3 separate regions of the Homo sapiens genome follow, and regions 1 and 2 are each linked to region 3. Evidence: promoter capture Hi-C in human tissues and cell types (Jung and others, 2019). All regions are on one chromosome and are shown on one strand. Each heading gives the region's core, a stretch centred on a gene start or on the middle of the fragment in contact. The rest is flanking DNA. Distances are from core to core; before and after follow the strand shown. Region 1 overlaps CFAP70 (cilia and flagella associated protein 70). Region 2 overlaps CFAP70 (cilia and flagella associated protein 70). Region 3 holds the start of MSS51 (MSS51 mitochondrial translational activator).

Region 1 (4,458 bases), core at 1,219-3,718, 120 kb after region 3:
AGATGGAGGGAGAGGCATTTCAGAGCCAGGGAACAGCTTGAGAGAGAATAACAGAGAATTTGCAAGAGCAGAATTTAGGCTGTCTCAGTTAATTGCAGTGTATGGTATATAGAGAAATTAAAGGAGAGATTCTATAAAGAGTTAGGAAAGAAGAAAGAGGCTGAATCAGGTAATGGAAAGACTTGAAAGGCTTATTTAAAAGTTTGGACTTCATTGTATAGCTGATGACAGATTCTTGAACCTCTTCTTGGAGATTCACATCAAAGGTTTCAAAGTCATAGAAATAAGACCTCATGTGTGTTTCAGGTCGGAATTCTTGCAAGGGTATGAAAAAAAGAGATTGAAGGTGGGGTAGGGCTGCAGGCTTTTCTTGTAGTATAGATGAGTGTTGATGACAGTTTTATTTAGGACAGGGGTTGTAGTAAAGAAAGTCAGAAACCTGGAGAGGCAAGGAGTTTGCAATTGGGAAGCTTTGGGGGTATTGATGAGAAAAGTTAAGGATAACTCAGGTTGCAAGCCTCACTTTCTGGAAGGATGACAACACCATTAAGAGAAAAATCAAGAGAGATTGACATTGGGGAAATAATAAATTCAATTTTGGACATGTATTTAGGATGCTGGCAAAAATCTGGGTAGAGCTGTCCAGCACTTGGAGTTGGTAGATGGTAGTGAGGAGACTGTGAGTGGGAATGTAAGAAGGTTATGAAGAGAATTTTTCTGCAGGACCACCTGAAAGAAGGTTGCTGGAAGAAAGAAAGGCATTCACTTAAAACAGTTCCTGGGAAAGTATTGAGAACAAGTTAAACAGGGCTTCAGCCTTGTTACACTGTAGAAGCTTCCAAGAATAAAACTGAAAATCCTTTCCTCTAAGAGATAACCACTGTTGCTATATTTCTTTCCAGTTATTTTTCTATGTGAAAAGTATTTTAACAGTTGAGATCACACTGTATATGTAGTTATATATGCAGTTTTCTCACTTATTATATTGTGAGCATCATCTTATGTTACTAAATTTTTCATAAATATATTTTTTTCTGGAAATAATAAGAAAACAATGTCTTTACAGCAATATGTAGAAGCAGGGACATACATTGTGTTGGAAATTCAGCTGGACAAAGCCTTGGTTCCAAAGCGAATGCCAGAGGAGCTAGCCAGAAGGTTTGTAGCTATGGTGCTTATACTAGTTTTGTACAATTTGGGTATAAATAAGAGGAAGTCAGATTGTCCCCACGATTGTAATTTCCCTTGGGCTAAGCAGGAGTTATCTGGTTTTTTTCTAGATGAAGTTTTTGTTGTTGTTGTTATTTTTGTTACCTTATCACAAAAGCATTGCATGCTCACTATAAAAATTTTTAGGAAGCTGGGTGCGGTGGCTCATGCCTGTAATCCTAGCAGTTTGGGAGGCCAAGGTGGGGGGGATTGCCTGAGCTCAGGAGTTTGAGACCAGCCTGGGCAACACGGTGAAACCCCGTCTCTACTAAAATACAAAAAATTAGCCGGGCATGGCGGCATGCACCTGTAACCTCAGCTACTCGGGAGGCTGAGGCAGGAGAATTGCTTGAACCTGGGAGGCGGAGGTTGCAGTGAGCCGAGATCGCACCACTGCACTCCGGCCTGAGAGACAGAGAAAGACTCTATCTCTAAAAAAAAAAAAAAATTCTTAGGAAATACGGATGAACAAGAAAGTATATAAAAATACCCAAGGTCAGGTGTGGTAGCTCATTCCAGCACTTTGAATCCCAGCACTTTGAAAGGCCAAGGCGAGAGGATCACTTGAGCCCAGAGGTTTGAGACCAGCTTGGGCAACATAGTGAGACCCCATCTCTATAAAAAATTAAAAAATAAAAACATCCAGATCTCTACTCACCTAGTGATAACTGCTTTTAACACCTTGGTGTTGTTATCCTTCTGGAGTTATTTTAAAGCCCCCTATATTACACATACACACATAAACACACACACGCATGTTACATATACATATATGTAATTTAAAAAAACTGTTTATATTGTACCATAGTGCTTTGCTTGTGTGCTACTAGGAAACTGTGCATTCATCTGGGTTATTCAACTTGTTCGCATACAATTGTTCATAGTATTCTAATACTCCTTTTTATCCCTCTAAAATTGGTAGTAATGTTTCCACTTTCATGTCTTCTCTCTTTTTTCAGTCAGTCTTGCTAAAAGTTTGTCAATCTTGTTGATCTTTTTGAAAAACCAACTTTTAAAGCTTATTGATTTTCTCCATTATTTTTCTATTCTCTAATTTGTTTTTACTCTAATCTTCATTCTTTCTTTTATTATGTCTTCTGCTAGCTTTGGGCATAGTGTGCCCCCCTTTTGCTAGTTCCTTAAAGAATACAGTTATGTTATTGATTTTGAGTTTTCTTCTTCTTTAGTGTATGTGTAGAGAACTATATATTTCCCTCTGAGCACTGCTTTCACTGCATTTCATAATTTTTTATTTGGTTTTTGTTTTCATTTGTCTAAAGGTTTTTTTTTTTTTTTCATTTCTCTTGTGATTTCTTCTTTGAACCATTGGTTGAATGTGTTGCTTAAATTTTCTTATTTCAGTTATTTAATATTCTTATTTTCTTAATTTTAAGTCTTCTGTTACTGGGTTTTAGTTCTATTTCCTTGTGATCAGAAAATATGCTTCATATGATTTCAATCTTTTTTTTTTTTTTTTTGAGACGGAGTTTCACTCTTGTTGCCCAAGCTGGAGTGCAATGGTGTGATCTCAGCTCATGGCAACCTCTGCCTCCTGGGTTCAAGTGATTCTCCTGCCTCAGCCTCCTGAGTAGCTAGGATTACAGGCATGTGCCATCACACCTGGCTAATTTTGTATTTTTAATAGAGACGGGGTTTCTCCATGTTGCTCAGGCTGGTCTCGAACTCCTGACCTCAGGTGATCTGCCCGCTTCGGCCTCCCAAATTGCTGGGATTACAGGCATGAGCCATCATGCTCAGCCATGATTTCAATCTTTTAAAGTTTATTGATCCTTGTTTTGTGGCCTGACATACGGTATACCCTGCAGAATGTTCTATGTGCACTTGAGAAGAATGTGTTATCTGTTGTTATTGGGTGGAATGTTCTATATATGTCTGTTAGGTCTAATTGGTTTATAGGGTTGTTCAAATCCTTTCTTTCTTTCTTTCTTTTTTAGATAGAGTCTCGCTCTGTCACCCAGGCTGGAGTGCAGTGGCATGATCTTGGCTCACCGCAACCTCTGCCTCCCGGGTTCAAGCAATTCTCCTGCCTCAGCCTCCCAAGTAGCTGGGACTATAGGAGCACATCGCTGCACCCAGCATTTTTTTTTTTTTTTTTTGTATTTTAGTAGAGATGGAGTTTCACTGTGTTGCCCAGGCTGGTCTTGAACTCCTGAGCTCAGGCAATCTGCCCGCCTCAGCCTCCCAAAGTGCTAGGATTACAGGCATGAACCACCATGCCCGGCCCAAATCCTTTATTTTTTTACTAATTTCCTGTCTGGTTGTTTTATCCATTATTGAAAGTAGAGTATTGAAGTCTCTATTATTGTAGGACTATCAGTTTCTCCCTTCAATTCTATCAGTTTTTGCTTTATAAATTTTGGGGTTCTGTTGTATATGTTTATAAATGTTGTATGGGGTTCTGTTGTATATGTTTATAAATGTTGTATTTTATTGCTGTATTTAACCTTTTATCAATATTTAATGTCCTTATTTGTCTCTTGTACCCTCTTTTTATTTGAAGTTTATTTTGTCTGACAGTAATATAGCCATCTCAGCTCTTTTTTACTATTTGTATGGAATATCTGATTTTATCCTACCTTTGACTTCCTCCTGTCCTTACATCTAAAGGGAGTATCTTGTAGACAGCAGATAGATGGATTCTGTGTGAGTTTTTCTAATCTAATCTGCCAGTGTCTGCTTTTTAATAGGAAAGTTTAATCCATTTACATTTAATGTGATTACTGATAGAGAAGGATTTACTTCTGCCATTTATCTGTTTGTTGTCTTCATGTCTTATTTTTTTTTGTTCTTCAGTTCCTTTATTGCTGCCTTTTTATATTTAGCTGATTTTTTGCAGTATGCCATTTGGATTTCCCTCTTCTTTCCTTTTCTGTGTATTTTTTTAGTTGTTGTCTTAGTAATTAACTTGGAGACAACAATTAGCACCTTAAACCTGTAACAGCTTAGTTTGAATACAAACTTAATTTCAGTACTATACACTCTGCTCCTATACATCTCCATCCCTCCCGTTACATTGTTATTGTCACAGATTACATATTTATCTATTGTGTGCCTACTAACATAGACTTATCATTATTATTTTATGCATTTGTCATCAAAAAAAAGAGGAGAGAAAGAGGAGTTACAAGTTGAAAGTGCAATAATACTGGCTTTCATATTTACCTTTACTAGTGTTCTTTATTCCTTCATCTGACTTCAAGTTACTGACTAGTGTCCTGTCATTTCAGC
Region 2 (4,718 bases), core at 1,478-3,977, 79 kb after region 3:
TTTCTTCTTACTCCACCACTGCAAGCTACTTGCTACTTGCTATGTGTGTTGTTTTGCCTCTGAACGTTTTAAAATCTGTTCCCTTTCTTGGAATATCCTTCCCTTTATTAAGACATAGTTCCAGCGTACTTCCTCCAAGATTTTCCTGGCATGCATATGTATTCTCAAATCCAGCTAGGTCCCAGCTTCATTCAGCACTTCCTTGCTGTATGACTGCTGGTAAGATAACAAACTTCTCTGAAGCTCAATTTTTTTCAATCAAATAGAGATTTAAGAATCTCTTAGAAGGGAGGCTACATTTAAGATAATAAATGCGAAGCACACTTGGCACACTGGCTATAATCAGTTAATTTCCTTGCTTCTCTCATTCTTTTTATTTGTAAAAGAAAAAATAAATTTCCACCCCCCTTTTCCTCCCTGTGTGTTTCACTCCTCCCTTCTTTCCTCTGTCAGAGCACCTGTCTCACAGATTATGACTCCTGGTCTAGTTACACGTCTCTCGTCCTCACTAGATTTTAAATTTCTTGAGGTTAGAGAGTTCACATCTTATCTCTTGTATCCTCAGCACCCATCACAGTGCCAAGCTTAACAAGTTTTTTCAATGAGCAATTCTGACAAAAGCAGGATGAATTAGAGTGAGAAACTGGAGTCAGAGACACCAGTTAGGAGGCTTTTGTTACAGTCTAGCAGAAGGGTAATGAAGGCCTAATGCCATATTATTGAAAAGGAAAGAAGACTGATACAAAAGGGCATTTCAAATGTACATTTGACAAAGAAGTTGTCAGTGCCACTAAAGCCCTTAAAGAGCCCAGAAATATGTTGTTGAACAAATGATTTGACACTTTTAGGTGACTGGAAAAATGCTGGAGTAGCTGAGAAGAGGCAGGATAATTATAAAGTCTGAAGGCTGTAAGATGTTGTTTTCTCTTTTGTATCACCAAGTACACTTAGCATAGTATGTCCTCAGTAAATGTTTGAATTGAGTTAGAAAATAAGGCCTTTTCAACAGGCACAGTGGCTCATGCCTTTTAATCCCAGCACTTTGGGAGGCTGAGGTGAGTGGATTGCTTGAGCCTAGCCGTCGAGACCAGCCTAGACAGCATGGTGAAACCCTGTCTCTACAAAAAATACAAAAATTAGCTGGGCGTGGTGGCGCATGCCTGTAGTCCCAGCTACTCAGGAGGCTGAGGTGGGACAATCACTTGAGCCTGGGAGGTTGAAGCTGCAGTGAGCTGTGATCACACCACTGCACTCCAGCCTGGGTGACAGAATGAGAGCCTGAAAAAAAAAAAAAGGAAGGAAGGAGAGATAAAAGACCTTTTCCAAAAAACAAATATCCAATTTATTATCGAAATTGTTTGTGCCCTTAGTATTGTAAAATTGACAGTATATCTGACTAAATAAGAAATACATTAAGACCTTTTCCAGTGGACTACCATTTTGTGTGGCTGCTTCTTTCCTGCTCTCAAAATATATTTTTGTAAAACTGAGAAGTTAAATAATGTTTGAAGGGAGCTTTGCAGATTAAAAAAAACGGTTACCAGAGAACACTGTGAACAGTGTATGGCAGCAGTCCCCAACCTTTTTGGCACCAGGGACCAGTTTCGTGGAAGACAATTTTTCCACAGACTGGGGGCAGCGGGGATGATTCAACCACATTACATTTACTGTGCACTTTATTTCTATTAGTATTACACGGTAATATATAATGAAATTTTTTTGTTTTGAGACGGAGTCACTCTTTTGCCCAGGCTGGAGTTCAGTGGTGTGATCTCAGCTCACTGCAACCTCTGCCTGCCGTGTTCAAGCGATTCTCCTGCCTCAGCCTCCCAAGTAGCTGGGACTTACAGGCATGTGCCATCACACCTGGCTAATTTTTGAATTTTTTAGTAGAGATGGGGTTTCACCGTATTGGACAGGCTGATCTCGAACTCCTGACTTGGTGATCCGCCCGCCTCGCCTTCCAAAGTGTTGGGATTACAGGCGTGAGCCACCGTGCCTAGCCTATATAATGAAATATTATACAACTCACCATAATGTAGAATCAGTGGGAGCCCTGAGCTTGTTTTCCTGCAGCTAGACAGTCCTATCTGGGGGTGATGGGAGACAGTGACAAATCAGGCATTCGATTCTTATAAGGAGTGCACAACCTAGATCCTTTGCATGCATCAGTTACAATAGGGTTCGCACTCCTGTGAGAATATAATGCTGCCACTGATCTGACAGGAGAGAGAGCTTAGGTGGTAATGCAGGTGATGCAGAGTGGCTGTAAATAGAGATGAAGCTTTGCTTGCTCGCCTGCTGCTTACCTCCTGCTGTACAGCCCAGTTCCTGACAGGCCACGGGCTGGTACTGGTTCATGGTTCGGGGTGGGGACCCCTGATGTAGGGTATGGGAGGTCAAGGTGTTCCTACTTTGTCTTGTGATACTTTGTGCTTAATGGGTTAGTTACCTGTATAAACATCTTTAGCGCTACCAGTGAAATCATCCTTGTGACCAGCTCCCTAAAGCACTGCCTGTCCAACAGCAAAGGTTGGATATGGGGAATAAAACAGTGCTGGACTATGGCATTTCCTTAGGTTTTCCCTGGTATTGGTTATGATGGAATATGGGTACTTGTGCAGCTGTGGTACATGAGGGGACAGGTTGATTCATTCTGTTTACAGAGACCAAAGAAAACAGAGGGACTTTTCCCAGTTGGTGATATGGAGCAAGTGCCATCAGCAGGCAGACTCGTGCAGATCACCGTGACAGAGGGATATGATTTGGTAAAGTTACTTTTGGAAATTTACAAAAATCCTTAGTTTGGGAGTACCTGCAGGAGGAATGGAATTTTGCTTCATTCTCTACCTCCAAACCTCCTGGCTTTATGTAGCAGTGGCATTCCGCCTCAGTGTTCCTTATTGTTAGTCTTAATCTCCAAGTCACATTACTGTGTGTCTCAAATACCCGGCAATTTGAATACTAAATTTAACAGGATGAAAGAAACAGTGGTTTTAGTTTCCCTAGACAGCAGTTCACGTATAATTTTTTTCCCTTTCTCCTGAGAAGGATCTGAATTCTTCCAGAGTTTCCCTTGTGATTAATTCTATTTGATTAATTAAAAAAACAACAACAATGTGATGTACTAAAAATTAGGAATATGATGAAATGGGAAAATATTCAGTATATTAAGTTTAAAAAGATCATTCCAAAGAGGATGTAATTAATGAGCTCCACTTTGTTTTAAAATGCATATATAAAAATGTATCTATGTGTGCATGTATGGGTACACACACGTACATCCATATATTCACAGCAGAACACTAGAAAATATATTCTAAAATATTAATAATGCTTGCATGTTACAGTAAGATTGTAGGTAATTAATTTTCTTACTTTTAAAAATGTTCCTCAGTAGCTTGCAGTGAGCTGAGATCGCGCCACTGCACTCCAGCCTGGGTGACAGAGCGAGACTCCGTCTCAAAACAAACAAACAAACAGAAAAAAAAATGTTCCACAGTATACTTTTATTATTAGGTGAAACACAATAAATGTTATTTTCAAGACTCCAACATAACAGCACTTCAATGGAATGTTGCATTTAAGTAAAACTAGATTTGTTTAATGATTTTTCTACCTATTCCTTTTGTATTTGTGATGTTGCTCGTTAGGAAAAAATGAAAAATGCTATTTAGCCCAAATCAAAATGGGTTACCAGATGTGTGGGAAAATTCTCTATTTGAATATAATTGTAAAGTGGTGTGTTTCTGCCAACAGAAAGGTTTTAAAGGAGATACTCCAGTTACCTTTATTCGAGCAGAATTCAATCAAGTGGTTCTGGGAGACTCTGCAAAAATTACTGTTTCTCCAGAAGGAAGTGCAAAATACAACTTCACTAGCAGTTTTGAGTTTAATCCTGAAGGAGGAATCACTTCAGATGACCTCGCTCACAAACCTGTGTTCTGTAAGTCCTTGTGGTTCTAAAAATCAATGTCCCGATTGCCTTCTTCCCTATCATGTTGGATGGGAAAAGCACAACCAAAACATTCTTTTAAACATGTAACTAAAATCATGAGAAAGAAAGGACAGTTCCTTTGTTCCCAGAAGCAAGGCAGGAACTGAAACGTGAAAATCTTGAACAGCTGCCATTGGTGTGTATGTGTTAGTGGAAGTGTGCAGGGAGAAGGCAGTACTCCAAAACCTAGGGGCTTGGGTTTTAATGCTCTCACAAGGACAGAAAACCTTTGGCTGTTGTTGATGGGGGAATAGAGACTGAGATCACCTCCCCATCACAAGTTAAGACTCTCAGAAAGTATGGACCAGGAAAATAAAATCTGCTTATCAGCATCTCTGTCTAGATCCTGGGTAGAGAAAAAAGTCTTCCCTAGGAATAATCATAGGCTTGTACTAACCATTAAAGAATATATATATTTTTAAAACACAGGAGGAGCATTTTTATGATAGCAATTGGCCACATTCTAAGCGATAAAGCAAGTCCTACCATAGATCAAAGGATCAACAGCATACAGACCACCTTTTCTGCCAAAATGTAACAATCAACAAAATTAGAAATCAATAACAAAAAGCCAAAAAGCTATTTGGAAATTTAAAAACATACTTATGAATCATTCATGGGACAAATAAAAAAGTCATAATAAAAATTGCAAAGCATTTGGAAGAGATCAACAGTAAAACACCAAATATCAGAATTTGTGGGATATAGTTAAAGGTGTACT
Region 3 (5,053 bases), core at 1,614-4,113:
CCTATCATTCCTTTCTTCTTTGTCATAATCACAATAAGTATAGGATTTTGCACATTGAGGGATATTAGGATATTGCTCAAAATTATATAATCATACAATAACTTGAATTATAGTTCTCAACAATAATTACAATGAGATATATTATAAAACACTAAGTCAAAATATAGGCAGGGCACAGTGGCTCATGCCTGTAATCCAAACACTTTGGGAGGCTGAGACAGAGGATTGCTTGAGCCTAGGAGCTCATGGTTGCAGGCTGTGTTGAGCTATGATTGTACCACTGTACTCCAGCCTGGGTGACAGAGTGAGACCCCATCCCTTAAAAACAAACAAAATATATGTAAATATATTAGGCAAGCGCACACACACACACACACACACACACACACACACACACACACACACATGCTTGCCTAATTCCAGGTAACAAACAGAACTTCTCAAATTGTTTCTTTTTTCTTTTTCTTTTGCTTTTTTTTTTTTTTTTTTGAGACGGAATCTCTGTCTGTCACCCAGGCTGGAATGCAGTGGCATGCTCTTGGCTCACTGCAACCTCCGCCTCCTGGGTTCAAGCAATTCTCCTGCCTCGGCCTCCCAAGTACCTGGGACTACAGGTGCCCACCACCACGCCTGGCTAATTTTTGTATTTTTAGTAGAGATGGGGTTTCACCATGTTGGCCAGGCTGGTCTCAAACTCCTGACCTCGTGATCCGCCCACCTCAGCCTCCCAAAGTGCTGGGATTTCAGGCGTCAGCCACTGCACCCGGCCACAAATTGTTAATTATTATAACTCTCTGCTTGCCAAAATATTAACTTACAAAGCAGTCCATGAGTTGGCTCTAAAGTTATTATGCATTGCATACCTTAAAGATTGTTGTCTATGTTGTTTATGAAAGTTGCATACCTTAAAGATTGTTGTCGATGTTGTTTTATGAAAGCTATTCAGTAAAGAGTTTATCTGGCTAAAATAGACCCAATAGAAAAATTAAAAAGTAAGTAAGAGTTTAACTAGTATATTAGGTGCCAGGAACTTTCCTAGCCCTTAGGTACATAACTAGCATTATATAGTGTTTGTGGGAATCATGGGTGAGCATTAAGTAGTATTAGCAAAAAAACTATGGATTGATGGTAAAAATTAAGAGGAAAATAAGAGAAAGGAACCAAACTCAGGAAAAGCAAAATACCTGAAGAGTGATAAAGTATCACATAGTGCCTCACAGACCACTTCCTACATGTTGAATAGGAACCTCTTTCTAGTCTTTCTTCATAATTCATTTCACAGCATACCATTTATTAAGATTTTTTAAATGCAACTCATGATGAATACAAATTGTGAAAAGTTCAGACTTCGTAACTTTAAATGTTTACCAGAGCAAGTCATAGTGATAGTAAAATATAAGTATTCAACATCAAAGTTTTTCTATATTACTATTCTCCTTTATATTCATTGACAACTTCTGAATTAGAAAAGTCAATCTCTGATGTCTTGTATCTTCTGCAGTTCAGCCATTATTAACAGAACTCAAAACATTTGAGGTTCTCAGATAAATTTTGAAGCCTGTTAAATTTGAAGTTGGCCTGAAACTTTTGCACAAAGTGAATTACCCCTATTTTATTTAGGGTTTTTGCCTATTGCAACTGATTTTCCTTTATCCACAGCTATTCTACATAATGTTATGCAGTGTTTGGTTGAATCCTTAACACTTTTCTTCCACCTTCCCTGCATGTAGTTTGTACTTTTTACAGTTTGGGGTTCCTGTGTGGATTTGATTTGCCACATTCCGGGACCTCATTGCGAGTGATTCTGTTCCCCAGTTTGATGATGTTCAAAGAAGCAGGTAAGTGAGAGCTGGGGTCAGATATAAGCAGAAAGTCAGAACTTTTTTATTTAAAAATTTTAAAAAAATTTTTTGAGGGTAAGAAAGATCTTGCAGTCTTTTAGGACCACTGCCCTAACAACTTCAGATAGGCTAGCTGTAAGTAGAAAGAAGCTAGGACTGTGGAATTGAATTTCCTGGATCAGCTGCAATTACAAGGAGGATAAGAGAATGGTTGAGCTGATTCTTTTCTATTTTCTTTTCCTAGAAATAGTATGTATTTTTAGTCATTAACTAGTATTTTGGTTTTGTTTAATATCCCAGAAGCATTTATTCCTCTCTTAATACAGGTAAAGTGCTCCTGATGACTCTCTCACTCAGAGAGTTATCTTACCCTTCTTTCAGGGAAAGTGAATTTTACAAGTTAATTCTGCATGTTTCCCCTACAACTGATTTCATTCTGTACCATTAAATGGCCATTTATTTTCTCCCTTCTACTTAATCCAAGATTGGACATTGTTGAGTTTTGTTTGAACAATGTTTGTTATGCTGAAAAAGGACACCAGGCCTGGGGGAACTCATCCTGTGTCTAGATCAACAAACAGAACTCCAGAGGGTCCTCTGGTTCCTCCCACTTGGTTGGAAAGGTGCTTACCCTTTCCAATCAAATATTGACTTCTGCACTAATCCAAAGGGTTTTCTTCTGAAGCTGTAAACTGAGAACAGAAATATTGCCTTGAGTGAGAGAAGTCTAGGAAGCAGCAGGTTTCATTTTTTGTCAGCCTGCCTGGCCTTTACTTGGCTAACACTTGGGAGTGTTGACAGTCCTGAGCCCCCTTGGCAGAGAACAAAGGTTAGAGAGAAGCCCTCAGGCAGGGGGACAGATCCCTCTTTGCCTCATTAGGGAGAATTCAGCCTTGTCTGTCTGGTTGGCAGGGCACACTTAATCACTGAGACTCAGCATTTCAGCAGTTTGCAAAGGAAAGTGATATGAAGGGACAGCTGCAAGTAAGCCACAACCTAGATCTGAAGAGATCAAGCACTCATTTCACTTGGAGGAAAGAGAGAAGGAAGGAAGCTGAGGACTTAGCAGGGTAAGTTTTTTTTTCCGTCAACCTGTCTGCTTGCTTAGTTTATAATTGAGTAAAGTATTTATCACCCCAGGCAGTGTTAATCACTGATTAAACAGCTGAATGTGGCCATAATTACAGTGTCCTTAATGTATTTCTCCTTCTCTTTTCCTACCCCCTTATAAGGATCTCCAATGACCAGTTTCAGTCTTCCTTCTCCCTACCTCTCCAAAGACGTTTTGCATTTTTTGGTGACTTACAGAAAATTAGATGAGCACTCCTTATCTGGAGATAGTGAAAATATGACTGTAGTTTAGGTGAAACTTGGGACTCTTGGTGGTAAAGAAGAAGATGGGAAACCTAGGTCTAGGAATAGATTAATATTTTGTCTTGAATTTGGACATGAAGGATAAAAGTTTTTCTAGGCAATCAAGATCATGTCTCCTCTCCAGTTCTTGGTGTTGGTGTTCTCTCTCTTATACTGGGACTAAATTAGAGCCTAAGTCACTGGGGATGGCTAGAAAAAAATGAAAGGGATTCCCTTTCTAAGTGGAGAGCATTCTAGACTCTGGAAAGTTCAAAGAGCTTACTGCAATTCTTTCCAGCTTCTCCTGTGAGTCCCCTGTTTTTTCCTTTGTTTCTCTCAGTTTATAACCTGTGAACAGGGAGTAGCCTGGGGCTCTTTACAGGAGATTTAGAACCAGGGAAGCTGTGTCTGGGCCTGGGGTATATAAACTCAAACATGAACCTGATGATGTATATAGATGCAGATCAAAGACCTGGCTTCTCACCCACCTTCTTTCTTTTCTGCCAGAAAGCTAACTCATTTGTATCATGAACATTGTGCTCTAGACACAGAGGAGACTGTGACATTAGGGATTTTTACCACCACTCCTCTTCCTCAAACTGTGTGATCCTTTTGCTTTCTGACCAGTTCAGCCAACTCCCAGATTGCCAAGAGCTAATCTTCCTTTAGAGGAAGACCTCACCTTGGAAATGCGGAAAAGTAAAGCAGTACCTTTCTGACCTTAAGTGGCTTGCTTCCATTGCAGCAAAAAGGCTTATGTTTTAACTTCAGGGAGATATCTATTATAAATTCTGGGATTTAAGACCCTAGAGTTGTCTCAAATCACACTTTCCTTCCATACCTATTTAAAAAAAAAAAAGTCATTCTTTCAAGGTTTAAGAAAGTGGTGTCTTGGCCGGGCGCCGTGGCTCATGCCTGTAATCCCAGCACTTTGGGAGGTCGAGGTGGGTGGATCACGAGGTCAGGAGTTCGAGACCAGCCTGACCAACATGGTGAAACCCCATCTCTACTAAAAATACAAAAATTAGCTGGGCATGGTGGCGCGAGCCTGTAATCCCAGCTACTCAGGAGGCTGAGGCAGGAGAATCACTTGAACCCGGGAGGTGGAGGTTGCAGTGAGCCAAGATCGCACCACTGCACTCCAGCCTGGGTGACAGAGTGAGACTCTGTCTCAAAGAAAGAAAGAAAAAGAAAATGTTATCTTGCCTGAGGCAGGTGGGTAGAGTAGATAAATGCTTTTTGTAGAATGGCAGTGATTCTGAAAATGCAATGAGAATGTGAGGTGATTAAAAGTGGAGGACAGAATGAGGTTAGTTGTTGGAAATTGGGCCCTAAAGTGTGAAGGGCAATTCCATTTACTCTTTTGGTAAAAGGACATGACCCTTAAACCCTAAGATAATCTAATATCATTAGGTCCAATTTCTTCATTGAAGGTAATATATAGGATATGGTATACAGATGAGCTTGACTATTTCTGTTCTGTGGACTGAAACCATCCATTCACCCATGGGATAAGGGGAGACATTAAGAGGGTGGATGGAAACATAAGGATGAGGAGATAGAAAGTACAAAGGAAAATACAAATTTGTTCCTCCATTAACCTGAGGACAGGTTTTTAAGAGTCATGTTGTAAGATATGGATATGAGCTGGATAATTCTGGGAGCTTTTTGTTTATTTTTGCCACCTGCATACACCTCAGCTGCATGATGATTCTGAGGTTTTTCCTAACAGATCTGATCTAGAAGGATCAAATGTCAGATCATTTTTGTAACAAAACATGATCCCTGGTTTGAACTTTAACAGTTTCCTCATTCACACTGCCAGCGTTTTTAATCCTCTGTTATTTCTCTGTACCTGA

What was found. Contacts are between HindIII fragments. The study calls those that stand out against the background at their distance.
Region 1: a contact is called between a fragment that was not itself captured here and the fragment with the promoter of MSS51 in region 3, in 3 of the 25 tissues and cell types used here (bladder, mesendoderm cells and thymus).
Region 2: a fragment that was not itself captured here is called in contact with the fragment with the promoter of MSS51 in region 3 in 2 of the 25 tissues and cell types used here (liver and mesenchymal stem cells).

Annotation. Positions count from the first base shown.
Region 1 is chr10:73,306,858-73,311,315 of GRCh38, reverse strand. It overlaps CFAP70 (cilia and flagella associated protein 70), which reads left to right. Exons shown (of 28, transcript NM_001367801.1): 13 at 1,067-1,158. Among named protein-coding and RNA genes, the nearest start is that of CFAP70, 50 kb to the left of the region's middle. The HindIII fragment of the contact is 3,629 bases long and covers 654-4,282 here.
Region 2 is chr10:73,352,784-73,357,501 of GRCh38, reverse strand. It overlaps CFAP70 (cilia and flagella associated protein 70), which reads left to right. Exons shown (of 28, transcript NM_001367801.1): 2 at 2,667-2,768; 3 at 3,760-3,946. The coding sequence starts at 2,706. Among named protein-coding and RNA genes, the nearest start is that of CFAP70, 3.7 kb to the left of the region's middle. The HindIII fragment of the contact is 5,225 bases long and covers 115-4,718 here.
Region 3 is chr10:73,431,371-73,436,423 of GRCh38, reverse strand. It overlaps MSS51 (MSS51 mitochondrial translational activator), which reads left to right and starts at 2,863. Exons shown (of 7, transcript NM_001024593.2): 1 at 2,863-2,911. The HindIII fragment of the contact is 24,221 bases long and covers 1-5,053 here.